3 separate regions of the Homo sapiens genome follow, and regions 1 and 3 are each linked to region 2. The links are contacts of gene promoters, found by promoter capture Hi-C in blood cells and fetal thymus (Javierre and others, 2016). All regions are on one chromosome and are shown on one strand. The core of a region is centred on a gene start or on the middle of the fragment in contact, and the rest is flanking DNA. Distances in the headings are between cores, read along the strand shown. Region 1 holds the start of MTMR6 (myotubularin related protein 6). Region 2 holds the start of SUPT20H (SPT20 homolog, SAGA complex component). Region 3 holds the start of ATP7B (ATPase copper transporting beta).

Region 1 (2,700 bases), core at 34-2,533, about 12 Mb after region 2:
ACATATTTAGCTTAGAGGAGTCAGCAACTCCACCGCAAAGGCTGTTGTGTTTAATAACCATCTCCATTGCTTTGGCAATCTGTCTGAAACATCGTAGGCACTCAAAACAAAACAAACCAAGACAACTTGAACAAAATGAAACAAATAAGTGAAACAAAATTTTTAATTATAAAAGAAAATTTAGATGTTAGGCTTTTCTAACACCAATCACAGTATGAAAGATGAAGATTACAAACCTTAACCGGCTTAGTACAGAATACTTACAAAACGTAGAGCAGAGTTTCTCGGACTCTAACTCCTGACCTCAAGTGATCCGCCCGCCTCAGCCTCCCAAAGTTCTGGGATTACAGGCGTGAACCACCGCGCCTGGCATAGAGCAGGGTTTCTCAACCTCTGCACTGTTGTCATCTGCCGGATAATTCCCTGTAGTTGGGGGGTTGGTCTGGTGCCTAGTAGGGTGTTCAGCAGCCGACTTGTGACTTGGCCTCCACCCACCAGTTGCCCCCCGCCGCCACCCCCCCACCACCACCATTTGAGACAACCAAAAATATCTCCAGATGTTACCAAATGTCCCCCGGGGAGAAAACTCACTCCAGGCTGAGAAGTACCACATTAGACGTGTTCTAACAAAAATTACCTGTAACCCTCACCTAGAAATGTAAACTTTTTGTTTACATAAATAAAAATTACAGAGCACGGCTACATTGAACTTATTGTTCCATAGTCAGTTTTTTCTTCACTCAGTAATGCAGCATTAACATTTTCGTTATGTGATATCCCTCTACAGGATGAGTTTTAATGGATGCTGGTGCTAACATCGTATGAAATTGAGGTAGGAGGCGGGACTCTGACACCAGACCAGATTGAGGACTAGCTAATCATCATACTTTACATAAGGAATCCGTAGGATTGGAGAGTTGATTGTTTCAAATAAGGCTGGTTTCCTTATTTGGTTATTTCCTTAGAATAATAACTCCAAATCTGATTATTTCCTTAGAATACATTCTTATGAGTAGAACTGCAGCTCAAACTAAATTTGGTGCTGTCCAGTGGTATGGCGATGGACTTCAGAACATCCTCCACTCTTGCCCTCACCCCACAAGAACCCTTTACTCGGGATCCATTCTCACGCAGTCTTCCTCCCCGACCGCCCCGCGCGTCCGCTCGGCGGGATGACAAAGACCGCCTCGGGTGGGGTGGTGAGCAGTACCGGCCTCCTCCAGCAGGGGGCGCTGTGGGATCCGCCGCTGTCCGGGACGAACCAGCAAGCCGCTCTCGGTCCACACACGCTCTGTCTGCCTGCCCCGAGTCCCCCGGGAGGCCGCGGGGTTTGGGGAAGTGTTTCTAGGAGACGGCGCTCACCGGCTGCACCTGCGCCGTTGACGCCACCGGGGCCGGCAGACAGACCCGCGGCGCTGGCTGGTGGAGGGAGTTCCCGCTTGCTCTCTGTCGCTGTCACCGCCCTGTTTCTGTAGCCGTATGGTACGCCTGTGAGACCGGCTGCCGGCTGACGTCTCCTTGCGATGGAGCATATCCGGACGACCAAGGTAGTCGGGCGCGGGATCGCCAGTCTTCAGGGGCCCTGCTCTGACCCGGCTGAGGCAGGAGGAGACGAAGGCTCTGCTGGCCTGACTGGGGCTGGGAGCCGGCCCGGCGGAGACCCGGCCCGGGGCGGGAGGGTCTGGCCAGGCCTGGTCTGGGAGGGCAGGGTTAGCTTGGGCCAAGCGGGGTGCAGAGGCCTCCTGTACCTACAGGAGCAGGGGTCCCACTTTCAGCATCTTGGAGTGCGTAGAGATAAGTCTGGGAAAACTGGTCACCGCCCTCCTAGCTCTACGTTTTCTCGGGCAAAATTGGGGCTCCTTTAACTTTGGAGTCTTTCAGCCTTTCGTTGCCTCATCAACCGGAAAACCGTCTTCAAATTAACATTATGATGCTGTGTAAGCTTGTCCTTGCTCACATTTCATTGTCCCGTGTCACAGATTCACAGTACGAGTTTTGGAGGAACCGAGATCAGCACTCCGCTCCACCTCCCTTTGCTGTCTCGGTCTCCAGTCTTTCGCATCCGGTGTTTCCGTGTCTGTGCTTCATACTTCAGGCATTGTCCTGTGTCAGTAGTCAAGAGTTCTGGAGAAGGGAAAAATGTTATTCCATATTTTAAAAGGTCGGATGCAGCTTTATTCGATTGACCTTATTGCACTCCATGCTTAATTTTTGTGTGTGGAAGACCTTCATTTTGAGAACGAACAAATATTTTTATTTCGTTACAAATTTAAAAACGGAAGGAAATGACATCAGAATGTTACCAAATTACGTTTCCAACGACATTTAAGTTTAACTTTGAGAGGGAGAAAAACATAAATCGAGACGAGAAGAATAACATTTTAAAATCACTGCGAGCCCACTGCAAGGCAGCCTCTTGACGTTTTGGCAAAGCTGAAGCCCTTTAGTTGCTGCCCATCTTAAAATTACGGCTCATTTAGGGAACCACAGATGTTCGTTATCTTCATTGTTCCAAGAAGAATTTGTGTTTTTAAAAATTTTTTAAATGTTTCACAAACCTTTTAAAGGTATACATAAATTTTTATTGGAGCTTGTCTTTAACATTGTGCATACCGTATCTAGTAAAATTGAAGATTCTGAAAACTAACCCCTTAACATTTTTTTTTAAGAGAAGAAAGATAAAATAACTTGAGAATTCAA
Region 2 (2,700 bases), core at 77-2,576:
CATTTGTTTATGGGTTCCTCAAATATTTTCACGTAGAATTACTATAAGACCCAGAAGTTCCACTATGTTTATACCCAAAAGAATTGAAAACAGGGACTCGAACAAATACTTGTATACAAATGTTCATATCATTGCTATTCACAATAGCCCGAAAGTGGAAACAACCCAAATGTCCATCAGTGGATGGACAGGTAAAACTGTGGCATCTAGGTACAGTGGAATAGTAGCCATAAAGAGACATGAAGTACCGATACATGCAACAAGGTGTACAAGGTGAACCTGCAAAAGATTATGCTACGAAGACAGACCAAAAGGTCACACATTCCATTTATATGAAATATCCGTAATAGGTACCACAGTTTGAAAGCTGATTGGCATTTGCCAGGGGCTGAGAGAGGGAGGAATGGGAGTAACCACTTAATGTGTTCGGATTTTATTTTGGAGTGTACTTTAATACACTTATAATGTGTGCAACCACTAACTCTAATTCCAAGACACTTTCATTCATTATGACCCTTGGCATTGTGAACGGCAAATAATAAATGCTCATTAAAAAGATTCACCCCAGGCCGTGCATGATGGCTCACGCCTGTAATCCCAGCACTTTGGGAGGCCAAGGCGGGTGGATCACTTGAGATGAGGAGTTCAAGAGCAGCCTGCCCAACATAGTGAAACAGTCTCTACTAAAAATACAAAAATTAGCCGGGTGTGGTGGTGCACGCCTATAATCCCAGCTACTCCGGAGACTGAGGCAGGGAGAATCGCTTGAACCCAGGAGGCAAAGGTTGCAGTTAGCTGAGATTTCTCCACTCCACTCCAGCCTGGGCGACAGAGCGAGACTCTGTCTGAAAAACAAACGAACAAACAAAACAAAACAGACCTTACAATGTGTGCTAGTAATGCGGTTTCTGAATTTTTAGAACCCTTCTCTGGGGTGGTTTTTTTAAAAACATAAACTCATTGGCAGTTGATATACTACAGAAGGTTGTACGCATTGGACTAGTAAATGTAGGTAACGGTGTCGCTGTTTTTCCATTTGTATGTGCTAAGCAAAGAGAAAAGCTAGTTCTATGTTTCTTCCACTCTAGAAATTCAACAGGGTCGTTTTTCCCCAAATTCACATCTACACCCTCCCTCCCACTTTGCGGACTCGGACTCCAGGATTGAGCAGAGATCCTGGGCCCCGCCTCCCGCCCGGACGCAAGTCTCTGCGGGCCTCACCGGCGTCCTGCGCGGAACGCAGCGCTCCAGGCTCCTGGCAGCGGCCCCGCCCTCCCGGCTCCTCCCCTTCCGCCCGCCTTCCCCGCCCCTCGGCCCAGCCTGCCAATCGGAAGTGCGGCCGCCGGAACTGGCTGTTGGTGGGGGTGCAGCACTGAGCCGCCGACGGGGCGGGTGGGCTTTGCTGCCGAGCAGGCGGCGCCGTCTTGGGGCCTAGCGGCGAGGCGACCCGCACAGGTGGGCGGTGGCGGTAGGTGGGTGGCCAGCGACTGGCAACGCGGTGGCTTAGACGCGCGAGATCCGGCCAGGGTCAGAGGTGAGCGGGCCGCATCCCAGAGCCCGCTGGAGGAAGACGGGGTCCCCAGAGACCCGGCAGGCCGGGGCGGAGGTTGAGGCAGCTAAACTCCAGGTGGACGCCTACATCGCCTTTCGCGGTGTTGCTAAGCCGAACTTTTAATTTTAGTTTGACTTTTGGGTTCCAGAGACGGGTATTTCCGGACACTGGCAAGAATTTTGCCTTGCGTGTCTTCGAAGGCGGTTTTCTTGGTGTCCATATTGCATAAAGGCTTGTCGCTCCTCTGTGGAGATGACGGTTGTACAGGTAAAGCCTAAGTTGTGACAAAAGCTCCTGCAATGGGAAGACTCTGGTCGATCAGGGAAATCAGTAGAATTGATAGCAACGCGTAGAATTGATAGCAACGCTTAGAATTGGATTAATTACTGGCCATGGTTACCCGGCGCTCAGAAATGAACTTGGAGAACAGTTGCCCTGGAAGCCATCTCCCGTAGCCACTGCGTAGTGGGGGCCGCGTCTTCTTGAGTGCAATTCATCAAAGTCTCTAGTAGGACTCAAAATATAAAGTGACGAGCAGGATTTTCGGAGTCGAGTACAGTGTACTTGGGTTGATCACCATGTTATAAAGTTAGATCCAAATTAAGAAATACATATTCGTCTCTGAGCAGAATTGGGTCCTTTTTTTAATTGCTTTGCTTTTTTTAAAGAAATGTAAAAACAGATGCCGGTTTGATTAGTTTGCAGGTTGTAATATTGGAAGGGACCTAAGATTGGACACAGAGTTCTGAATTCTGATCTAGGTCTGTGATGTTAGGAAAGTCAGTTGTTCTGATTGCCTTATTCTGTAAAACGGAAATGATAATGATTACAGTTTCCTCACAGGTTCTAGTAAATTCTGTGTATAGACAGAATGTTTGCTTTGTGAGAGATATGAAGTTATTAGTTTTTGTCTGAAGTACTTAAATAATTTAAAGTTAGTAAGCCCCCATCCCCAATTTAGTGACAAGAAATCTTAAAGTCATCACATTTTGTCCGAAAAGTACATAGTGTATCTTCATCTTCAAATTCAGTGGTCAGAAAATTTTCACGTTCACCTAAATTCAACTTAAACCTCCTACGAGCTTTTCAAGGGTAGGAGTAATATCTTACTCATTGTAAATGATCGTAAATCATTTACAGTTGTATGG
Region 3 (2,700 bases), core at 110-2,609, about 15 Mb before region 2:
TCTCGTGGCTCAATCGTAAAGAAAAATAAGGAATGAATATGAATAATTTATGACAGACTAACTGGAGTGTGAAAGGGAAAAAAAAAGCTGAAGCAGGGAAGGGAACTCGACCCCTCGGCCAACAGTGAAGCAGAAGAAAACGCGGTAAATTGAGTCTTTAAGACCTAGTCTATTCCAGTCTATATAGAAGACCCCCAAGAAAAAGAAAGACTGCTCATTGGCCTGAGAAATTACCTTAGATTCATGACAAGGAAGGCCATTTGCCCGCAAAATTTAGCTACACTGGACGGGCAAGTACCCCTACAGAAGAGAAAACGTCTGTGAGCCCACACGACCGGCTGCTCACCTCAACAACTTGCACAGGCACCAGCTCCTTTCGCCGGCCGCCATCTTCCGCCGACCCCCGAACTCAGGAAACGCTTCACTTTCCTTTTCCCTATTGGCTCCTGAGAAAGCAAGCCGTGCTCGCCCCGCCCCCACGGGCCAATTGTGCGTTACTATTGGTTACTGGTAGCCGCTTCCCACGGCCTTCCAGCCAATAGAATATGCCGAGGCGTAGACTAGTGTTCGGCGTGGCGCACACGGCTCCCGCCCCCGTGGGCGGGACAGCAGTGGGGGGTTGGGCTGAGGAGGGCGTGGCCTGTGATTGACAGCCGTCGCTCCCTCCCTCGGCCACCTCCCCCACTAGAAGCCCCCGCCTGGGCGCCTGCGCCCCCGTTCCCGGCCCAAAGCCCGCCGCCCGTTGGAGGCCATTGGCTGGCCTTTGCGCACAGCGGATCGATTTTCCAGGTGCGGAGTTCACTCTTGCCGCGGTTGCTTCCTTTGGGACCCACGGCGTCCGGCAGCCAGGCGCAGAGTCCGAGGAGGGGGCAGCGCAGAGCGGACCCGACGCGGCGCCGCCGGGCACCTTCCCCGCAGGCGGTGGGTGAGCCCTGGGAGCTGAGTCTGCGGCCCGGCTCTGCGCAGCTCACCTGCCCTCCCGCTCCCGCACACGCGTGAGATCCCAGTACAGTGTCGGAGCGCACCAGCGCGAGGTGGCCGAGACCGCGGAGGAGGACAGGCCTCCGCCCTGCGGCGCCGGCACGGCAGAGGACATTGTGGCACTGGCACGGCAGAGAACACTGTGGCACCGGCGGGGCCGGCAGTTCCAGGGTGGGCACTCCCAGCCACCTGGGGAGTGGGCGAGGGTCCGAGGCCCACTCTCCCCTCACGCTCTCATCCCCGTGCCCCCAGGTCGGGAGGACGGCGGCGCGCAACTTTGAATCATCCGTGTGAAGAGGGCTGCGGCTTCCCCGGTCCCAAATGAAGGGGCGGTTCCCGGACCCCTGTTTGCTTTAGAGCCGAGCCGCGCCGATGCCCTCACACTCTGCGCCTCCTCTCCCGGGACTTTAACACCCCGCTCTCCTCCACCGACCAGGTGACCTTTTGCTCTGAGCCAGATCAGAGAAGAATTCGGTGTCCGTGCGGGACGATGCCTGAGCAGGAGAGACAGATCACAGCCAGAGAAGGGGCCAGTCGGAAAGTGAGTTTTGTTCCCCCGCGTCCGCGCAGCGTGCTCACTCCCACCAGGAGGATTTTCCTCCCCGCGTTCGGCGCTTACTCGCCCCCAGGGGGTGCGCAGGGAAGGCCGAGCCAGACCCCAGCTCCAGGGATGTCTTGGCGTGGGAGAAAAGGACCCTTTAGAAAAAGTGTGCCGTCAACTGATGTTTGGGAGCAATGGAAAACCCCGCACCTCAAAATTCATCTTTATGCTTTTAAGGGGTCTGATGCTGGAGAGATAAAGTGAGCGTCGAGTTGCTGTGCTAGAGCCCTAATGGCTCAAAACGATGAAGTTAGTTACCTGGAGAAGTTACTCAGAGCCTGGTGCTTGGACCAGATATGGTATATCGAGGTCCTGGAACTTTTATAACTGTTTTAAATTCATTTTAATTGTACAAGTAATACATTAAGACAGTCTTTTAAAAATGGAAACAGCACAGAAATATTTTGCACAAAAAGCAGATCTATTTTTCAGTCTTTTTCTATTCACGTACATATGTCTTCATTCGGCAAATATTTATTGAGAACTTTCTATGTTTCAGGCACACAGTGTTGAGTTGATACAGTGGTTAACAAGACATGTATCTATATGTAATATGCACACATTCAGAGAAATCTTTAGGTTTCATTTGTATGAGGTGTTAAAATTTTTGTTTTACCTAAATGAGATCACTGTATGTGCATTCTCTTTTTTCAGTTTAACGATATATCTTAGAGATTGTTTCACTAACTGTCTAATTCAGTGCAACCTCTGCACAGTTTGGACGCATCATAGTTTATTCATGGTTTCCTAGTGGTGGACGTTCTGTTTGCTACTTTTTTTCTCTCTCTCTTGCAAGTGAACATCTTTGTACATGATTTTTAATGCTGACACTATTTCTTTAGGATAGATACTTAGGCCTGGATTGCTGGACAGAACAGTAGGCTGTTTCTTTTCCACAGATTTCTGAAACTAATTCACTGACGTTGCTGGGTGCCCTTTAGTAGTGAATTCATCTAGGCTCCGGTGATACAGAAATGAAAACTAACGGATTAGTGGACAGACAGAGAGAGGCTGGTTAGTAGGTGGTTTGTAGGGTATGATGACTATGCATTTGATAGGAGTATGAAGAAATGTTGGGAGGGGTGGCTTGTACAGAGGAGATTTCAACTTCCTACAGT

Evidence for each region. Contacts are between HindIII fragments. The CHiCAGO score rates a contact against its expected background, and 5 or more counts as called.
Region 1: a contact is called between the fragment with the promoter of MTMR6 here and the fragment with the promoter of SUPT20H in region 2, in 1 of 17 cell types (naive CD4 T cells). The highest score is 9.4, in naive CD4 T cells.
Region 3: the fragment with the promoter of ATP7B here is called in contact with the fragment with the promoter of SUPT20H in region 2 in 1 of 17 cell types (total CD8 T cells); the score reaches 5.3 in total CD8 T cells.

What each region holds. Positions count from the first base shown.
Region 1 is chr13:25,286,071-25,288,770 of GRCh38, reverse strand. It overlaps MTMR6 (myotubularin related protein 6), which reads left to right and starts at 1,283. Exons shown (of 14, transcript NM_004685.5): 1 at 1,283-1,547. The coding sequence starts at 1,524. RefSeq lists enhancers at 970-1,139, 1,240-1,579, 1,283-1,903. The HindIII fragment of the contact is 4,901 bases long and covers 1-1,944 here.
Region 2 is chr13:37,058,314-37,061,013 of GRCh38, reverse strand. SUPT20H (SPT20 homolog, SAGA complex component) reads left to right here and starts at 1,326. Exons shown (of 26, transcript NM_001014286.3): 1 at 1,326-1,455. RefSeq lists a silencer at 1,155-1,414. The HindIII fragment of the contact is 8,647 bases long and covers 1-2,700 here.
Region 3 is chr13:52,010,109-52,012,808 of GRCh38, reverse strand. It overlaps ATP7B (ATPase copper transporting beta), which reads left to right and starts at 1,359. Exons shown (of 21, transcript NM_000053.4): 1 at 1,359-1,522. The coding sequence starts at 1,472. ALG11 (ALG11 alpha-1,2-mannosyltransferase) reads right to left here and starts at 411. Exons shown (of 4, transcript NM_001004127.3): 1 at 347-411. The coding sequence starts at 390. RefSeq lists enhancers at 153-242, 293-422 and silencers at 543-642, 653-762, 813-1,152. The HindIII fragment of the contact is 3,430 bases long and covers 1-2,700 here.